Linked DNA regions of Homo sapiens: regions 1, 2, 3 and 5 are each linked to region 4. The links are contacts of gene promoters, found by promoter capture Hi-C in blood cells and fetal thymus (Javierre and others, 2016). All regions are on one chromosome and are shown on one strand. Each heading gives the region's core, a stretch centred on a gene start or on the middle of the fragment in contact. The rest is flanking DNA. Distances are from core to core; before and after follow the strand shown. Region 1 overlaps SPON1 (spondin 1). Region 2 has its middle 28 kb from the start of CYP2R1. Region 3 has its middle 30 kb from the start of CALCA. Region 4 holds the start of COPB1 (coat protein complex I subunit beta 1). Region 5 overlaps CYP2R1 (cytochrome P450 family 2 subfamily R member 1).

Region 1 (2,700 bases), core at 162-2,661, 260 kb before region 4:
GACGGGAGCAGTGAGTCTGCTGTCAGAGGAGAGGTGAGTCTCAGTTGCCTCACCTGAGAAATGGGGACACCCTCCTGCCTTCCTCAGAGAGCAGCAGTGCAGACCATGGGCAAACTGCAAAGTGCCACCAAATATGAGCTGTTTTATTTATGACCTGAGAAGCCCAGAGGCTGTTGAAATGAGGGGAGGCTACTGTTGGGCACAATTGGTTTTAAAGATGCTTACAGCCCCGTTATCACCTCATAAAATGGCTCATTTCTTGCTACTCATCACCAGAACACTCACCCAGGCATGAAAAAGTTACCTTCAGAGGTAGAAGCTGTCAGGATGGATATTTTTTGTGCATGGCAACTGGGAAAGAGAAAAAGCAAATAATGGGGCCAAATAGTGCTCACCGGGGTCTCCACGCAAGATTCCAGACACTGCTCTCCCAGAGGGAACCCCAGTGATCCTGTGCCTCAAAGCAAGGGCTCCTTGGAGAAAGCCACCAACCAGGGTCAGCTGTGCTCTCACTGCAAAATGAGCAACATGGGGGAGGGAGGAGAGAAGGATGGAGAAGAAGGACAGTCAGGGAAAGTGGAAAGAATGTGAGTTTGGAGTCAGATACACATGCGTTGGAATCGTGGTTCCTGTGTGGTCAGCAAATGACCTGACTCCTCTGAGCCACAGCTTCCTCATCTGCAGTGGACAGCGTGATAGCTATTTCCAAAGCTTTCTGTAAGAAACAAGCTGTTGAATGGGGGAATGCACACTGTGTGTGTGGCTGCGTATCACTGCATTTGCAATTAGTGGCACTGGGTTTTCCCCTGTTTAGTAGCAGACAGTTTTTCTTCAGCCCAAGGAGCCTGTGCCTTCCCGGCTTCATCAAACCGGTCGTCAGAACAGCAGTAACTTTCAGTGTTGTGAACATGGTCTGATATTCTTCCACGTGTGGCTGTGATATGCAGAACTGAAAGTAGGCTAGGACATGCCCTTAAGAGCAGCAGAAGTAGGAGGGGTGGGCCTGGTTCTCCTGGGCCACAGTGTGCACTTTCAGGCCCCATCTGCCTGGGTTCATGGTGGCAACGGGTGTGGCCTCTAGAATCAGACTGAGGTCTAAACTCTAGCTCAGCCAGTTAACTAACTGTGAAACTAATTTGGCCAAATAAATGTGTTTCTGAGGATTAAAACGTATATATCCACCTTGCAAATGTGTTGTAAGGATTAAATCAGATGCTGTCTATTAGGCAATTTGCAAGGTTAGCAAGATGCTTAGCACATAAAAAATAAATAATTATTGTTTTATTATTGTTGCTGTTTCCACCTGTTTCTATTCCTTTCCCTCTCTGATCATGGATTGCATCCCATTTCTCTTCCTGTGGGGAGGAGAGATGGTAGGGGCATCAGGCAAGTTGGCCAGGCTGACTCCACACTGAGGTCTGAGCCTCAGTGCTACCAGCAGCAAAGGAATGTTTAGGATGAGGAAATGGCTTGTGGTTCAGGACTGGAAGACAAAGTCAAAAAGTTAGGAAGAAAGGGGCAGGGGGATGTGACAGACTCTGGCCTTCTGCTGTGGGCACAGCTGGGATGTGTGGAGCTCTTCCTCATTGGGTGGCTGGCTCTGGAGTGCAGAGGAGGGTCAGCGTGGGGTAAGATTGGTTCAGACACCAGCCCCGACCCTAGACTCACAGTCTTACTTTCTGTTCTGCTCAGACCACCCTGTTTATCTCCTGGTATTGATGTAATTGCTGCCTCCAGAACAGATCTGTCCCAGATCTGTTTTCATTCCACATGAACCCGCTTCCCTCCAGACCTGACCTCAGCCCATGGCCTGTTAGGGGATATGCTCTTCCCATTTGGTACCAGTAACTGTGAGGTACAAGTACAGCTGTTGTATCCCCACAATATGCTTACAAAAGCAAAATGGAAGATGAATATGAGTGACCTGTAGTATCTTTGGGTTTTTTCCTATTTTAATTGGTATGTCTTTAGAAAAGTGTTGGCATCATCCAAATGAACCATGAACGATGGATGCCCTGAGACACTTTGTTTGAAAAGGGTCCTGTGGGAGCTGAGAAGGGGCTCTAAGTATTCTTGAAAGTTCCTGTCTGTGCCTTAGAGACTTGTTAAAATAAGCTTTTCATTTAAGTCTGAAGTGTGGGTTGCTTACTCTGAATTTAAGTCCTTCATTCTTCAGAATGTGAAATGCCCAGGGCCCTAGTGCCCCCATCCAAGCTACATAAGCCTTCCATCATATGCTCCCTGGGACTCAGAGCTTGGCTTTCAATGGAGGCAAGTTCTCCTGAGGCTTTGTGGGTTTGTACCTGCAACTGTGTGCTCCAGTCTCTGTACTCAGGCAGCGCAAGTCAATTCTGATATGAACTTACCCTGAATGTAAGTAAAAATAAGAATGATCAGTAATTTTTGTGGAGCACCTGCTATGTGCCAGGCACTTCATTGCCACATTACATGAGTTGTCATTTAGTCCCCCTAACAAGCACATGCAGAAGATCCTCTTTTTACCCTATTTCACAGATGAGAAAACTAAGAGAGGTCACAAGACTTGCCAAAAAACAGAGTTTGGCAGGGCACGGTGGCTCACACCTGTAATCCCAGCACTTTGGGAGGCCGAGGCGGGCAGATCACTTGAGCTCAGGAGTTTAAGACCAACATGGGCAATGTGGCGAAACCCCATCTCTACAAAAATACAAAAATTAGCCA
Region 2 (2,700 bases), core at 194-2,693, 420 kb after region 4:
AAAACAAGCATCTCAGTATAGCTTTGATGTTTTCATGTTATTATATTATGTTTCATGATAGGAAAGTTTTGATTTGAGATTAAACAATCACTATGAAGAAACTTTCATGAAAAATAAAAGCCAAAGCAGGGAGCATGCTAACAATTATCCCCAAACCAGTAATCAATGAAATAGACAGAAAGCCACAGTGTTCAATTAGCCTTATGCAATCTCAAGATATTAAACTTTCAGTGCATCCAATCTTCCTGCTCCCCCGATCTGAGCTCCAAGAGCATGCATTCGTATGGTTGACAAGCCTGTGTTAAGCCCCCTGTGCCACGTATTTTGCCTGACATTAAGGACAGAGAGGTAAAGGATGCTCTCCTTGCCCTCTGAGAGCTTGAACTCATATCATTATGTGGTTCATATCAAGTTATGTTATGGCTTGTAGTAAATATGTCTTATAGAAAGGCTTGGGTCTTACTCATATTTGTTCACTGTCTCTACCACAGTTATCAACTGTAACCACAGCAAAAGGTTTAAATACTGATATGGTTTAGATTTGTATCCCTGCCCAAAACTCATGTTGAATTGTAATACCCAGTGTTGGTGGTAGGACCTGGTGGGAGGTGATTGGATCATTGGATCATGGGGGCAGTTACTCATGAATGGTTTAACACCATCCGCCTTGGTACTGTTGTCACAACAGTGAATGAGTTCTCATGACATCTAGTTGTTTAAAAGCATGTAGCACTTCCTTCCCCTCTCTCTTGCTCCTGCTCTCACCATGTGAGATGCCTTACCCTTTGCCTTCTGCCATGATTGGAAGCTTCCTGAGGCCTCCCCCGAAGCAGAAGCTGCTATGCTTCCTGTAATGCCTGCAGAACCGTGAGCTAATTAAACCCCTTTTCTTATAATTACCAAGTTTTAGGTATTTCTTTATAGCAAGGCAAAAATGGACTAATACAAATGGTAATTTTCTTTCCAAAATATGGTCAGGGAATAAAAAGAAAAATGAGAATAGATGAAAAAGAATCAGAATTGTTGGACAAAAGAAGGCACTGATGTTTCCTGATTGCCTGCCACATGCCAAACTTTGTGCTAGGGGTTTTGTATGTGTTCTTTTGTTGAATCCTTCTTCCAATCCTGTGAGGCAGAAAGGAAGCTAAGACTTATAGAAGCTTTACAGAGGTCTAACATCTTCATTTGTTCTCTTCCATTCTCCCCATTGCAGCTGGGTTGTCTGGTCTGATCATTGATTTAACAGCCATCCATAGTTCACCATTACCCTGGGAATAAAGTTCAAAACGCTACACTGACTTTTAAGGAGCAATGGGACCTGGTACTTTCCTACGTCTCCAGCCTCATTTCTTGCCTTGCTTTCTCTTGCTCTCTTCTCTGTAGACATAGAACATTTACTTCAGTTTCTTGAGCACATTATGCCCTCTTTCATATCCTGGCCTTCCCACAGGCTGTTTTCTCTGCTTGGAATGCTTTTCCTTCCTGTCTTCTCAATAATGTTGAATGAATGAATAAATGAAAGGATACTGGAGAGAGTAAGGGTAGGAACCTGTTCAGGGGAAAGACTAGGCATAGATAAAGGGATTAGAGAGTTAATCATAAACCTGTGATAATAGACGCATTCTTTAAGGTTTAAGCTGGTCAAAGATGACCAGATCTTGGTTTCTTCTCTTTTATTAGCTGCTTCTCCTCCTTCGAACCTCACCATTGGTGCCACTTCCTCTAGGAAGCTTCTCTCACCCCCACAATGGTTAAATCCTCTTGCTGTATGCCCCACAGCTCTATGTATTTTTTGTCTATAACGCTTATCACAACAGACTAAAGCTGCTTGAGGACAGGGCCTTGTCTTTCTTGTTTGCTTCTCTATCCCCAGCACAGAGCAGTTGTTCTAAATATATTTGATCATTTGAATTATGAACAGTTAGGAACACATAGTTGGTTTGTGTTTCTCATTGGTTTTGTTGTTGTAGTTTTTGGACCATTAGTTTCTTTCATGCAGTGTTATCAGTGGTTAGCAATTTTAGAAATTCCCATTCTTCCAGAGTGAGTGCAACTGGTTAGGGAGTGGGGCTATTCTCAAATACAAAATGATACTCTCTAATTTATAACATAATTAAAAAGCAACTATTCTGAGTTTTCTAAATGTCCCTCTGGGCACAGACGCTGGGGACACATGTTTATTTTCCATTCTTTTACCTCAGCTCCCTCCCCTTTTTCCTTTGCCTGACTAATTCCTATATATTATGTCTCGGCAGAACCGTAACTTCAGACAGCATGCATCTAGACTATGTAGGTGGCAGTGGCATCTTAATGCGAGGCACAAGAGTACTTGACATATGATAGCTAGATAAATGATGTTGAATGAATGAGTGAGTGAGTGAGTAAATGAAGGGATGTTGTGGGGGAGATTCAGGGTAGGATCTTGTCAGGGGAAAGGTCAAGAGGAAAAAGTTAGGGAATTAATCACAAAGCTATAATAATAACTGTGTTCTTTGACATTAATCTATAATAATAGCTGTGTTCTTTGATGACTGCTATCAAAAGATGCAGCACATCTAGCACCCAGAACTTAAATCATAATTTTATATTTATATATTGTATATTATTCTCCAATAAAAGGAAGCAGGAATCCCTGGATAAATGGATGACTCTAAGGCTGGGGTAGGGAAAATACAAAGTAAATTTGGAGCATCTTATAGT
Region 3 (2,700 bases), core at 168-2,667, 500 kb after region 4:
ATGCAATTTGTTACTATTATAGTATTAAGGATTTATTTTGTCTATGTAGATGATGGATATTAAATTAACCCGTAGTTTCTTTTTCCTATAACATTTTCATCTTTTTTCTTTAAATCAGGGTAATGCTAGCTTCAGAAAGTGAGTTGGGATGGGTATCTCATTCTTAATCCTCTAAGTGATTTTGTGTAATTTTCACTTCATATACTTCATTTTTCTTCTCTTGCAGTTCCACTCAGTTTCATTTTTTAAATCTTCCATTTTTCTCCTCATTACATTCATGTTTTTATTTAAATTCTTAAGCATATTAAACACATTTTTAAAGTGATTTTTATCTTTCTTGCTACTAATTCCACCTTATTATTTCTGTATCTGTTTCTATGGAATTATTTTTTTATTTGGGTACATTTTCTTCTATTTTTGCATATCTATCAATTTTTGATTGAATGTTAAACATTGTAAACATTTTATTGTTAAGTGCTGGATTTTGTTGTATTTCTTTAAAGGAAATTAATTTTGTTCCGGCAAGAAATTCAACTACTTGTGATTCAGTTTGATCTTTTCTAGGCTTGTTTTAAAACTTTTTTTGCGTTTTGAGGGTGTGTTTAAAGTCACTGTTCCTGTAGTACCAGTTTAGCTCCGGATAGGCTTCTTGTGGCGTCTCTAGTAAATTTCATATGCATTTAACTATATCATTCTGCCCTGGCTGGAAGGAACTTGAATAATTCTGGCTCTGAATAAGCTATGGATATTATTTGGCTTCTACTTCCTGGTAATTTTTCTTTTTCTACATGTTGTTATTTGTACAGTCTTGTTAAATTTTATGCTATTCATGGACAGATTATTATTCAGTCAAAGACTCAAAGGGACTCCCATTCAATTACCCAGAGCCCTTTTTTCTAAATAGTCATCCTCTCTGCAATATTCTACCTTGCAAAATCTAGTTGCCTGGGCCACCCTAAACTCTAATCTCTGTTTCCTCAACTCAGGGAAAACCCCTCATACTTCGATCAGCTTCCCTATATCTGCACTCATGGGCCATAAATTGTCTATAGGCTAAAATTGGAAGCTATTGTAGGATTCACCTATTTTCCTTCTGTCAGGGATCACAACCCTTTACTGAATTTGTCCAGTGTCCAAACACTTTTATTTTATGTATATTTGGCCAGCTTTCTAATTGTTCCCGGTTAGAGAGTACATCCATGTTCTTTTACTCCCTCTTGACTGTAAGCAAAACCTACAGTATTAAATAATAATCAGAATCTGTCATTGATGTTTCTCCATACATATTTGGGGGGGATGCTGTGTACCATTTTAATCTGATGATTTTGATTTACAGATTTTATTATTTCAAGGATTTTTTTCTGGATTCTATTTCTAAACAATTTTTGGGGGCATTCTATTTGTTGGGTTCACTATTTTTGGGACATCAAATATCCTCAATGTGAGATTTTCTTTCTCTGATTTCTATGTCTATTTTTTACCCCATTTGTTTTACTCTTTTTTCTATTAATTTATGATTATTGGATTAAACCTTCCAACTGTTTTTATTTAAGTATTGCTTTATATATCCTGTTCAGGTAATTTCTAGTTTATAGACAATGTTATTTTGACTTGTTTTTATTTCCTTAAGTTTGCAATTTCTATTTTTCTTTCAATTCTGTTACTTTGTTTTCCATTTAGACTTTAAGCTCTTGATTTACTGATTTCATATTTACTAAGTAGATCTATAAAGCTCAGAACTTGCAGGCAATTTGTTTCTATATTCTATGTTATGTTATTATCCGACTGGGTTATTTGACAGTTCTTGCTTACTTTCTGGATTATTTGCTTCCTGGGAATGAATTCTGTTTGATATCTCTCTCAATTTATTTGAGAATTGTTTTTCTTTTCTGATTGGAGGTCTAGATATTTCTTTCCACTCACTTTTCTGAAGGCAGTTTATACCTTGGGTCTTGACCTAAATGTTAGTTACTTAGAGAGGCTTTCTCTTATTCTCTTATCTAAATTAGGATTCCACTGTTATTCTCCATCTCTGAACCCTGGTCTTTTCCTTTATAGCATTTATTACAATGTGTGATTTTGATCACAATTTGAGAAAGAAAATTCCTTTTATCTTTGAGGTAATTTTTGCTCACACCCCAAAAGGTTTACCAGTGCCATCAAGGGTTGTTTTTTTTTTAGTTTTTAGCATTAGAAATTTCATCATAGTAACTTGCTATCTGGTGAATAAAAAAAATTACTGTGAAACTTTCAGAGAATTTTAAAGAAAAATAACTAGTTTATAAACAGCACAGATAATATAGCTTGCTTGGGGCATGAATAAATGTCTAAATGTCATTGGAAGATATTGATTTTCACAGCTAGTTTGTTTGATCCTTTCTATTAAAGTCCTTACCCAGTGCTAAATGATCAATACCACTTAAGAGTGTTCTCAGAACATCACAAAAAAAGATGATTAAAAGGACAAAAATGTATGGATAAAACAAAAATCTGATGCTCTTTTTGGTCCTGTCTGAAAATGATATTTTACTCTATGCCCCAAATCTACCCCATGCACATTCTGAAAATTTCTGACTTCATCTTTTCAGACTTTTTATTCTCTCTCTCTCTCTCATATATAGATAGCTATATAACTACTTTTTATTTTGTGCACTGTCATTGGCACAACTTAACTGTGGCCAGACAAAACATGTGAGGAAT
Region 4 (2,700 bases), core at 128-2,627:
GTGGGTAATCCAAAGAACAAAGTTCTTTTGGTTTTACAAGCTAAGTAACATGAAGTTAAGTGCACGATGGAATTAAGATATTCCAATACACATCCTCAACCTGTTGCCTAGAGAAAATAATCAGCCACATTAATATATTGAAGTCTACAAAAATTATGACATTTTGAGGAATATCTAAACTATTACAATTTCTTTAGGTTTACTAAGATAAACTGAGATGTTCTATTTCAAACAACCAATATTTAAAGAAGTTCGCATTTTTAATAAAAGGTCTATCGAAGAGATCCTAGAAAAACTTTAGACAAAAATTAAGCATTTCTAATTATAAAGGAATATGAAATATGAGTTTTTTATTTTTGTTTTTTCTTTTTTCATTTCATTCTCAAAATAATATCGAAGTTTACCTAGATCATTTTTTAAGCTAATTTCAGATGGTGGTTCTGAATCCATTGGCACGTTAATTAACGTGTAGCATACGTTCTCAGCCGCCGTCATGGTTTCTGGTTATATTATAACCAATCCTTGACACAAGATTTAAGGATGCCAGAAAATCTAGAAAAATAAACACAGACATATCATTACAAATTAAAAAAAAAAAACCCACAAACAAGTACCTATAGTGACCTTTTAAAGTATTAGAAAGGGCAGGTCAATCTATATCGTGTTCCCATAAAAATAAATTCTAGTAAAAACCACATTATCAGCTCTGGCATAAGGTATATTATCTATCACTCCCTCATCGCATCCCGGTCCAGTGTTTGAGAATGCTGTATAGCCGAATGAAGGCCCACAGAACAGTGACAGTCCCCCCAGCCACACCCCACAATGTTATGGACCGTATGGTTTTTACACAACACACAATCTGCATGCTCAAGTTAAGAGACCTTGTGCCTGAATACTCTGCCAAAACCCTAAAGCGCTTTATCGCGGTCCTTGGTGGGTTCCGACTCTATGTCCGCGGGTCCCTTAATCAACGCGCTGCACCCCCACCTCGCCCCACCCGCTTCCTCCTCCCCTTCCTCCAGCAAAGCAGCCCTAGGCCTGAAAGGGTACGCCTAGGGGTCTTGGGAGGGAAAAGACCCCCGGCCAATACAAAGGACGGGATGGAGCGTCCGACCCGGAGCTTCCTAGCCCTCCGCCCCCACCCCGACCCGCACCCCCACCCGTACCCCCACCCGGTCCCTTCTGCCAGGCCCAGACGCAAGCGGCCTAGTCGCTCCCCTTCCGCATCTTCCAGCTAGAAAGCCAGTTCTTCCGACTCTGCCCGACCCACCACGCCTCTGGGACTGGGGGCTTGTGGCCCACTACCAGGCTCCGAGGGGCAGTGGTTTGGTGCAGCCGCGGATCCGTCTACTGCGGCTCCGTCTACTCCGGCTATGAACCGCAGCAGCGGCGGCGGCGGCTCCAGAGTCCTTGGCTGACGTGGAAGGGGGTGGGGTAACGACCGAAGCCACAGCCACCTAGCACCTACGGCGACTCAGAGAGGACATGCTTTCTTTGTGCAGCGCTTGCGCGCTGCAAGTATATCCTATTTTCTTCCTCTTCTCTTGTCCAGGGTTTGATTAGGCCGCAGAGCAATGAAACCACGTATTTTCTAGTTTTCCCTGCAAGCCAAGCTCTGAGTTAAGCACTATGCTAATTTAAACGCTAACTGGAAATCGTTCCTTCTTCAGGAACAGTCAAGGGGAGAAAGTGCTTGGAGAGAGGGAAACTTTTACAGGGCTCTGTTCCCGTGAAAAAGAGCTCTGGACTAGAAAGTGGAAACCCAGTAATCCTTTTTCTTGTCCACACCCTAATAAACTGGGAAAGTAACTAATACTATTGGGAAGGTAATTCAGTTATTTTATTAATTATCACTAGATTAAAATCCATTTCAGTTCTTAACATCGCTAGTAGTTTGAATCTGCCTCTCTGCAGGTAGGGCTGGAGTTATTTGAAAATCCAAAGTCACATTGGTATAATTTCTGCTTTTTATTTAATAATGGCCTCTTTCCGTGATCCTTTCTGAGCACCCAGTAGATTAGAAAAAATTTTTATGCATAAAGGGAGACAGTCACTGTTTTAAAGGATTTTACGTATCTCCAAAGACCTGTTACAGCTGCAATCAGCCATAGTACTTTCGGTTTTGCCCATTTGAAGTTCCATAGCACGCCCCGCCCCTACACCTCCCTCTGCCCACAAAAGGGTTTTATGGCCAATTATTAATAACAAAATATCTTAAAGCTTAAGCAAAATACTGCGAATAAAAACAGATCTGACGGCAACTGCCCTAGTTAACAGGTTCATCTCAGGAAGATGGAACACCAATAGTACCTCATTTATGTAGGATCTAGCTCTTTTGAGCTTTCTCTTTTTAGAACCATCAAGCAATCTACAAATTCTTTGAGCACCCAAAATTGTATTCAAAGGCCATGTGTTGACAGCACTTTAAGAGTGCCTCTCTGATTCTGTGCATTCATTTTTTTTAATATTTAATCTTAATGGTAGAGTGACATGAATACAGAGATCCCATATACTCTTTACCTAGTTTCTCCCAATGGTAACATCTTGCATAGTTATAGTACAATATCAATTTCAGGAAATTGACAGACATAATTCACCCAGCCTTGTTCAGACTTCACTAGTTTTACATGTACTCGTTTTTATATTCACTTGTAGACAATTTTATCATGCTTATATGTGTGTAATCACCAACACAGT
Region 5 (2,700 bases), core at 12-2,511, 380 kb after region 4:
GGCATCTGAAAAATTCCCTCGCTCTCCCAGAAACGATCTAAGCTTGCTTTCTCTGTATGGAGGTGAGCAAAGCACATGTGCTCCATGAGCTAGCCTTAAGATAAAGCTGGTATCATCTGGAAGGCAAAATTCAGAGGTGGAAAGACACAGGATCTTTGATTACACCATGTAACATCTAAGCCATACGGACCCTAAAACTTCCACCCTTCCTCCAAATTCCCCTTTTATTGCTTAAGTGAACTTGCAAGGATTTTCTTTCCCTTGCAACTGGAAACATCTGAATATATCCAAGATGCAAACTCCTGATGTATAACACACAAACTTGAAACTGTTCAACAACTAAGTCCAAACTAAGGTTAAATCCATATTCTTAATAGAAGTCATTGTGTGCACTGACTCTGAGGCTGCAACTATTCATGAGCCATGTTACAAGAGCATGTACCTGTAATATAACAACTTTAGAAGAAATGATGATGTAAAAATAGCTATAAATGGGTCAATATACATTCCAGTTTGTTTAGGGCAGTCATAATTTACCCTTGTTGTCCTGACATAATTATGAATAGGACCCCATTCACTCTCAAGTGTCCCAGTTTACACAGTTACCCTGTCTCTAAAGCATGTTTTTGGATTTGAATATAATTATCTTTAGAAAAATAACACTAACCCATGGAAATGCCTAGAGACCTCTAAAAGATATAAGTGAATTCGATCTTTAATCCTTGTGATTGGTTTTAGAAAGAAGTGGTGCCAGGGAAAATGTGCCAACAAAGATTCAATAGCCATTTATCATTTTAAATTTTAAATATATTATTGTAATGTCCTATCTACTTAACTGCTATGAAGATGGACACTCAGGGTCACACAGACCCTCATTTATAAGAAGAATGACACAGTTCTTATGAAGACAGAGCAGGAAGCAAGATATGAAAGCACTGGCAGGCTCTACATTAAATACATATTTCTTCTACCATCTCCCACCATATCTAAAATACCTCTATAGTCCTAACTCATTTATTTGTGTTTTAATTTCTTCTGTAGTCCTCTATTAAACTGGACTGGTACCACACAGTTTATTAATGACAATACCTGATCAGAAGGGAGCTGGTTTCTGGAACCAAGGCCCCCCAGGACAGAAGGCAGATGGAGTCAAGAAGGGATGAAAGTACCTGGTACTAAACAAGATGCTCAGCTTAGGGCGTCCATGACCCTTCTTAGCATTTTAAGCAACACCCATCATTTGCACCTTTGTGTCTCTCAACAGAGAATTTTACCCCAGAAGTCATAAAATCTTGAAAAACAATCACGACTAGTGCTTGTTTCTGCTCTAGTACTATTTTAAGACACATCTGTGTTCATTTGGCTTTTTGATGCTGTGACTTTTATTCTAATACACACATTGATTTGATTAAACCAAGTTCAGGGATAAGGCAAATATACATTCTTGTTCCCGAAAACATCCCAGGCAGTTTCAGCGTCTTTCAGCACAGATGAGGTAGGGTTGGGGCTGCAATGTCATGCCTAACCTGGGCTTCAGATCTGGAACTAGTTCATGTGGAAAATGCAAATGAAACCTCTGAAGCAATGCTGTAAAAAACAAGAACATTTCCATCCGAGCCAAGTGTTCTCCAAGACAATGTCTTCTTCCTAAACAGAAAAAGCAGATACAATAATTTTTTAAACCCACAATCTTTACCAAAATTAATGTCTAATATTTGGATGTCATTCAGGAAATCTGGAATTTAAACAAAGAAAGAGGGAACTATGTTTATTAAAGGATTTTCTTAAATCTCAAAGAATAGAAATTGACACTTCAGCAAGCAGAACCCATTCATTTACCTCCTTTTGTTAGACCACGGACTTTTGTAAGACTTTAGTTCCATCTCCCACTTCCCTCCTATGCTGCAACAGAGCCTAAGATATGCCACAAAAGATCTAATTTGAGGTGAGACATTTTGCTCAAGAACAGTCCACTTCATTTCAACTAAGTGTGTATTCTTCTCCAGTGAAGGGGAAGAGTTTCTAGTCCATCTTCCATGGGTCTTGTGTACCTTTTCACAGAAGAAGCAATATTTTCCTAATTGAAGATGAAGTACAATAACCAGAAGCCAAGAGAGTGAGATTCTAGTTTTACTTAAGTGACTATATCTTTTCCCTCTCTGGGTCTCAGTTTCTCAAGCTACCTGTTACTGAATTCTCATTCCACAAGTTTTGAAAAACAGATTTAGAAGAAGCCAGGGGTTCTCAAAAGTTCATCTATAGTTAATAAATTAAGGCTTATATTAAGCCGAAACAGATGTTAATTACTTCCAATTTAATCATTCTCTCCTGTTAGAATCAGTTCTGTGTTTTTAGAATTGGGATATTTAATTCTATAGAAGGATGCTTCAGATTAAGATGCTGTATCTAATGAATTATCATTATCCTTTATTCTAAAGTTACGCCCCGTGAAAGTTCTCTTACCTAGGGAAAAAGGAACCAAAGCTTCCTTCTTGGCAAAATATCCACTGCTGTCCAGAAATCGCTCAGGATGGAACACTTCTGGGTCTCTCCAGTACTTTTCATCAAAGTGTACAGAATAAAGATTTGTAATTACTGTTGTGCCTTTAGGAATGGAATAACCACGTACAACTGCATCTTCAGAGGTTGCATGGAAAATCCCTAATGGAACTATATTACAGAATCTTAAAACTTCATGCA

The links. Contacts are between HindIII fragments. The CHiCAGO score rates a contact against its expected background, and 5 or more counts as called.
Region 1: a contact is called between a fragment that was not itself captured here and the fragment with the promoter of COPB1 in region 4, in 1 of 17 cell types (total B cells). The highest score is 5.4, in total B cells.
Region 2: a fragment that was not itself captured here is called in contact with the fragment with the promoter of COPB1 in region 4 in 3 of 17 cell types (neutrophils, non-activated CD4 T cells and naive B cells); the score reaches 6.7 in neutrophils.
Region 3: a fragment that was not itself captured here is called in contact with the fragment with the promoter of COPB1 in region 4 in 4 of 17 cell types (naive CD4 T cells, fetal thymus, naive B cells and 1 more); the score reaches 5.6 in naive CD4 T cells.
Region 5: a contact is called between a fragment that was not itself captured here and the fragment with the promoter of COPB1 in region 4, in 10 of 17 cell types (naive CD8 T cells, non-activated CD4 T cells, total CD8 T cells and 7 more). The highest score is 15.0, in naive CD8 T cells.

What each region holds. Positions count from the first base shown.
Region 1 is chr11:14,236,883-14,239,582 of GRCh38, forward strand. All of the region lies in intron 6 of SPON1 (spondin 1), which reads left to right. Among named protein-coding and RNA genes, the nearest start is that of RRAS2, 120 kb to the right of the region's middle. RefSeq lists an enhancer at 689-738. The HindIII fragment of the contact is 1,404 bases long and covers 710-2,113 here.
Region 2 is chr11:14,918,557-14,921,256 of GRCh38, forward strand. No RefSeq gene overlaps it. Among named protein-coding and RNA genes, the nearest start is that of CYP2R1, 28 kb to the left of the region's middle. The HindIII fragment of the contact is 570 bases long and covers 1,159-1,728 here.
Region 3 is chr11:15,000,774-15,003,473 of GRCh38, forward strand. No RefSeq gene overlaps it. Among named protein-coding and RNA genes, the nearest start is that of CALCA, 30 kb to the left of the region's middle. The HindIII fragment of the contact is 7,414 bases long and covers 1-2,700 here.
Region 4 is chr11:14,498,434-14,501,133 of GRCh38, forward strand. It overlaps COPB1 (coat protein complex I subunit beta 1), which reads right to left and starts at 1,378. Exons shown (of 22, transcript NM_001144061.2): 1 at 1,274-1,378; 2 at 405-552. The coding sequence starts at 495. RefSeq lists an enhancer at 1,500-1,599. The HindIII fragment of the contact is 3,446 bases long and covers 1-2,221 here.
Region 5 is chr11:14,876,651-14,879,350 of GRCh38, forward strand. It overlaps CYP2R1 (cytochrome P450 family 2 subfamily R member 1), which reads right to left. Exons shown (of 5, transcript NM_024514.5): 4 at 2,464-2,700; 5 at 790-1,647. The coding sequence ends at 1,472. It also overlaps a transcript of PDE3B not described here. Among named protein-coding and RNA genes, the nearest start is that of CYP2R1, 14 kb to the right of the region's middle. The HindIII fragment of the contact is 2,442 bases long and covers 41-2,482 here.